Regions from separate parts of the Homo sapiens genome. Here region 1 is linked to region 2. The links are contacts of gene promoters, found by promoter capture Hi-C in blood cells and fetal thymus (Javierre and others, 2016). All regions are on one chromosome and are shown on one strand. The core of a region is centred on a gene start or on the middle of the fragment in contact, and the rest is flanking DNA. Distances in the headings are between cores, read along the strand shown.

Evidence for each region. The method cuts DNA at HindIII sites, captures the fragments that hold promoters and counts their contacts. A CHiCAGO score of 5 or more calls a contact.
Region 1: a contact is called between a fragment that was not itself captured here and the fragment with the promoter of ZNF559 in region 2, in 5 of 17 cell types (fetal thymus, naive B cells, total CD8 T cells and 2 more). The highest score is 6.4, in fetal thymus.

What each region holds. Positions count from the first base shown.
Region 1 is chr19:9,410,787-9,413,531 of GRCh38, forward strand. It overlaps ZNF266 (zinc finger protein 266), which reads right to left. Exons shown (of 11, transcript NM_001370374.1): 11 at 1,643-2,745. The coding sequence ends at 2,489. Among named protein-coding and RNA genes, the nearest start is that of ZNF266, 23 kb to the right of the region's middle. The HindIII fragment of the contact is 390 bases long and covers 1,286-1,675 here.
Region 2 is chr19:9,322,903-9,325,649 of GRCh38, forward strand. It overlaps ZNF559 (zinc finger protein 559), which reads left to right and starts at 1,277. Exons shown (of 7, transcript NM_032497.3): 1 at 1,277-1,326; 2 at 1,793-1,878. It overlaps ZNF559-ZNF177 (ZNF559-ZNF177 readthrough), which reads left to right and starts at 1,277. Exons shown (of 13, transcript NM_001384659.1): 1 at 1,277-1,326; 2 at 1,793-1,878. RefSeq lists an enhancer at 1,121-1,370 and a silencer at 1,541-1,680. The HindIII fragment of the contact is 3,488 bases long and covers 1-2,747 here.

The DNA.
Region 1 (2,745 bases), core at 231-2,730, 88 kb after region 2:
AGAAGGATGTGAAGTTATCACTTTGGGCCAATCTGAAAAGTTACGTACTGCACAATTCCAACTCTATGACATTCTGAAAAAGGCGAAACTATGGAGACAGTAAAAAGATGAGTGGTTGTCGGGCTGGGGAGAGGGAGGGAGGAATAGTGGGAGGACCGATGATCTGTGGACTTTGGGTGATAATGAAGTGGCAATGCAGGTTCATGAATTCTAACAAATGTATTACTCTGGTGGAGTATGTTGATGATGGTGGAAGCTATGCATATGTAGTGGCCGCAGGAATATAGGATGTCTTTGAACCTTCCACACTATTTTGCTGTGAACCTAAAACTGCTCTGAAACATGGATTTTTTGTTTTGAGACAGCGTCTGACTCTGTCACCCAGGCTAGAGTGCAGTGGCACAATCTCAGCTCACTGCAACCTCCTTCTGGGCTAAAATGATTCTCCTGCCTCAGCCTCCTGGGTAGCAGGGACTATAGGCATAAGCCACCATGCCCAGCTAAGTTTTGTCTTTTTTGTAGAGGCGGGGTTTCACCAGGTTACCCAGGCTGGTCTTGAACTCCTGAGCTCAAGCAATCCACTCACCTCAGCCTCTCAAAGTGCTGAGATTACAGCTCTGAGCCACTGCACCAGGTGAACACGGATATTTTAAAAGAGTAATAAAACATTTTCAATTGGTCAGAGTTTTCCAATCTGAGAAGTCAACATTATTTAGCTGAACTACCACTCTCCAAAACCTCTTACACTAATAGGATTTCTCTCTACTGCAAAACCTTACTTAAGCAATCCCTGAGATAACAGCAAAGGGCTTTCCATGTTTCACAGACTGTGTGGTCTCATTGCAAGTTACTTCCTGCTGGGTTGTGAAGAGATTCTGACAGCTTTCCCATATTTCTTACATTCACATGGCTATGAACTGTGATACAGTAAGATATGAGAAGCAAATGAAGTACTTCCTGCATCCTTTTTATAATCACAGGGTTTTACCCCAGTGTGAATTCTCACAAAGATATTAAGGCTTGAGCAATGAAATAAGGTGACACCATATCCCTGGGATACACAGGTTCTTCCTCCAATGTGAGATTTCATGTTAACATTATGGCATGTGAGATATTTAAAGGTTGCCATACATTCCCCTACATTCCCAGGACATTTGCAGTCTAATTTTATTTTATTTTTTTTGAGACAGAGTCTTGCTTTGTCACCCAGGATGGAGTGTAGGGGTCTTGGCTCACTTGCAGTCTAATTTTAGATATGTAAAATGAGCCTCGTGGAATTAGTAAAAGCTTTCCCACGTGCCTTACAGCAGAAGTGTTCTCTACACTGTGAATTTTTATTTCTCATGTAAGGTATAAACATTTAATGAAATCTCTCCACATTACTAATAATGGAGCCTCAGTCCACTCTAAGTCACTAAATGTTGGGTGAAGTCACATTTATGACTTTCATAGTAAAAGAAACTTTCTCTTCTTGATGGTCTTTGATTTTCACAGGGCCTATCACCACAAGAGTTGGAAGTGAGTATTAAGATCTGATGAGCACTTACAGACTTCTTCACATGTCCTACATTCATAGAACGTCTCTCCTGTGATTGCTTTTGTGTTTACACTAACACTAATGATAGCTAATGAACGGAAAAAATAATCACAAAAAAATTTTATTATGTTTGAAGAAAGCTTAAAAATTTGTGTTGGTCTGCATTCAAAGCCATCCTGGCCTGCGGGTTGGACAAGCTTGATCTAAAGCTTTTCCCAAGTTCCTCACAGTATTAGTTTCCTAGGGTTGCTGTACAAAATAACAGACTGAATGATTTAACCAAGAGAAATTTATTGCCTCACAGTTCTGGAGCCTGGAAGTGCAATATCAAGGTGGAGACAGGGTTGGTTTCCTCTGGAGGCCATAATGAAAGCATCTGTTCCAGGTCTCTGTCCTTGGCTTGTAGATGGCCATCTTCTGGTGGATCCACACAGTCTTCTCCATGTGTATCCTTCCTTCAGTTTCCCTTATAGGGACACCAGTGATGTCAGATTAGGGATCGAACCCAACAACCTCATTTGAAGTTACTCACCTGTTTGAAAACCCTATGTCCAAATACAGTTATAGTGTAAGGAACTAGGACTTAGGGCTTACAAATATGGAGTGGGGCATCATCCAGACCATACCATTTAAATTGCAGGGTTTCTCTCCAATGTGAGTTCACATACACACATTAAGGTTTGTGGGATTCAGAAAGGTATTCCCAGATTCTCTACATTCATACAGTTTCTCTCCAGTGAGATTTCTGATGTGTTTGGTAAGGCTTGAGAATTCAGCAAAGTCATTTCCACATTCCCTGATGCAGGGTCTTCTCCACTGTGAATTCATATGTGTTCATTAAGACCTGAGATACAAAGTTGCTTCCACATTTTTACATTCATAGGGTTTCTCCCCAGTGAGTTTTCATGTCTTCAGAGAGAACAGGGACACCTTTAGGTTTTCCCACATTCCTTATGCTGACAGTCTCTCATCCGCATGCCTTCTTTCATGATTTCGAAAGGAACTGGAAGAACTGAAGGCTTTCCCGCACTCCTTACATTCATAGGGTTTCTCTCCAGTGTGAGTTCGTTCATGTAACTGAAACGAATTGGAGTAACTGAAGGATTTCCCACACTGTTTACATTTGTAGGGTTTTTCTCCAGTGTGGATCCGCATGTGAAGGTTAACACACGTGGGAAACTTAAAAGCTTTGCCACATTCCATACACG
Region 2 (2,747 bases), core at 27-2,526:
AGATGGGCAGGAAAGTCTTTGAAGAGGAACCTCTACTTTACTTTTTACTGTAGAGAGAGTAGTCTTTGATCTTGGGGAGATGGGGTTTTTCCTTTTGGTTTAGCTTCAGGAAGTTTGTGTTAATTGGCCTTAGGTGCCCTGCCCCCAGCCCCAGGTGTTTTTCCTTTGATTTAACTTTAGGAAATTATCACGAATTGGCCTTAGATTCCCCGACCCCAGATCTTGGTGTTTTCACTTTTAGGAAGTCCGCATGAATCTTATCTATGCTCTTAACTACGTCCTAATTTTTGTGTTTTTTGTCTTTTTTATAGGAATAGGGTTTTGCCATATTGCCCAGGCTGGTCTCGAACTCCTGAGCTCAAGTGGTCTGCCTGCCTCAGCCTCCCAAAGTGCTGGGATCACTGGCGTGAGCCATCAGGCCCAGCCTCTATGTGCTAATTTTTGAACAAATTCCAATAGGAGCATTCTAGTCTCTGAGTGTGAGATGACCAAAAATCAAGCCCTTGTGAGGCTGAATAGAGTCGGGAGGCAGGGAACTTAAGGCTGTTTCAGGCCGACTTCCTAGAACTAAATTGAAAGGAAAACCCTCACTTTCCTCGCCTAAATAACAAAAGGACCAGAGGCTACTCCCTTTGACCTTTTCTGCTGGCAGATAGGAAATTGGCTGTCTGCAACAAATCAGACTGATGGCCGGTTGAGTCTTCATTTGCATAGAAGTGTAACTTTGTAACGTCGTAACTTCACCCTAGCCTTTGATTGGTTGCTTTTTGCAACCAATCAGATGTTTGCACAGGAGTGTGACCTTTGTAACTTCAGACTCTGGTTGGCTGCTTTCTGCAACCAATCAGACTGAACGCGGGCTACCGCTTCATTTACAGGAGGTGAGCATGAAGTGGCCAATGGGAAAATTCTAGGAGGTATTGGGACTCATGAAGGTTCTGTTTCGGAGCCCTTGAGCTGCCGCTTGGCCAGTTCCCACACTGTGGAGTATGCTTTCGTTTTCAACAAATCCCAGCTCTTGTTCTTTTGTTGCTTCATTCTTTCTTTGCTTTGCTGGGCGTTTTGTCTAATTCTTTGTTCAAAACGCCAGTAACCTGGACAGCTTGCAGTCAAGACCCCCTACCGGTGACACTTGCGCTCTTCGGGGAGGTAAACAGCATTTCCTCTCAGCTCTGGGTTGGAAAAAGCCGCAGCAGCTGATGGGCCCGGGAACCCGAGGCCCCGCCCCCTAGGTGGTCCTAGCCTTTGCGCGTGCGCGGCGTGTCTGCGTGGGCGCATGCGCATAACGGCCGCCATCTTAACAGCGCGTTCCCGTTGGCGTCTGAGGTAAGTTTTTGTTTCTGGGCGGCGTTCGGTGGTGTCCCGGTGCAGCCACGCGAGAGTAGAAGGGTGGAAAGGGGAGGTGCCCAGTGAAATGGAGCCTGTCCCGTGCACTTTCGGGCATTTCGAGCATCTTGTGGGCTCTCCCAAGTCGCGGCCCCTCCTCTGAGAGCCACAGTCAGGTCTGTCCTCAGGGGTCGAGGCGGCTGCGCTGGGGCCTCGGCCCGGGAGGAGGCGGGGGGCACGGCCTTTCCATTTTCCCTGCTCCCCTCTGCAGAAGCCTCATAGGGCCCGGCGCGGCGGCTCACGCCTGTCATTCCCAGCGCTTTGGGCGGATTGGGTAGGAGGATTACTTGAGGCCAGGAGTTCAAGACCAGGCAGGGCAACATAGGGAGACCCCCCCCCCCAACCATCTCTAATGGAAAAAAAAAAAAAAGTCTCCACATCCAGCGTTGTGCCTTTTCTCTATAAGGAACAGCATCTCTGCCTTCCTGTTCACGGTGACCTTCGCTTGGTGTCCTCCTGGCCTCAGCAACCTGACAATTCTGTCGTGTCCCGGTGAGCACTTCATGCACTTGTTCTGGCTGTGGGTGTCGGGTCTTGAAGTTTAAGTTGTGTCGAGGTGGAAAGAAACCTTTTCAGGTGGTTGTTCGAGAGCACATGGATCTGATACCATCGAATGCATGAGTGGATGAATGCACATAACTGTAAAATTTACCACCAAGGAAAAACACAGGACTACTCAACTGTGGTTCCAGGCCATCACCTAGATCTCACTCTAGCGCCCTGTAGATTCCCCCAGAGGTTCAAAACGAGGGCATCCCCAGGAACACGGTGCGGGCTGATTTACTAGCAGGAGGGATTGAATTGATAATGAATGCGAAGATAACTTTTGACAGGTGGGTTTTCTACCAGTTACTCATTTGAAAGTCTTACTGAGGGCGGGGCAAGGTGGCTCACACCTGTAATCCCAGCGTTTTGGGAGGCTGAGGCTGGAGGATCGCTTGAGCCCAGGAATTTGATGCCAACCTGGAAAAAATAGGGCAAGCCTCTGTCTCTACTAAAAATAAAAAATTAGCTGGGCATGGTGGTGTCTGTGGTCCCATCCACTTTGGAGGCCGAGATGCGAGGATCACTTGAGCATGGGAGGTCGAGGCTGCTGTGAGCCATTATTGTGTCACTGCATTCCAGCTTAGGCAACAGAGTGAGACCCTGTTTCAAAAAGAAGAAAAAAAAACAAATACTGATCTAGAGAACATCTGTAGCTCGAGTAAAACAAATGTCTTTAGTCCAGGTGTGGTGGCTCACGCCTGTAATCCCAGCATGTTGGGAGGCTGAGGCTGGCGGATCACGAGGTCAGGAGTTTGAGACCAGCCTGGCCAACATAGTGAAACCCCGTCTTTACTCAAAATACAAAAAATTAGCCG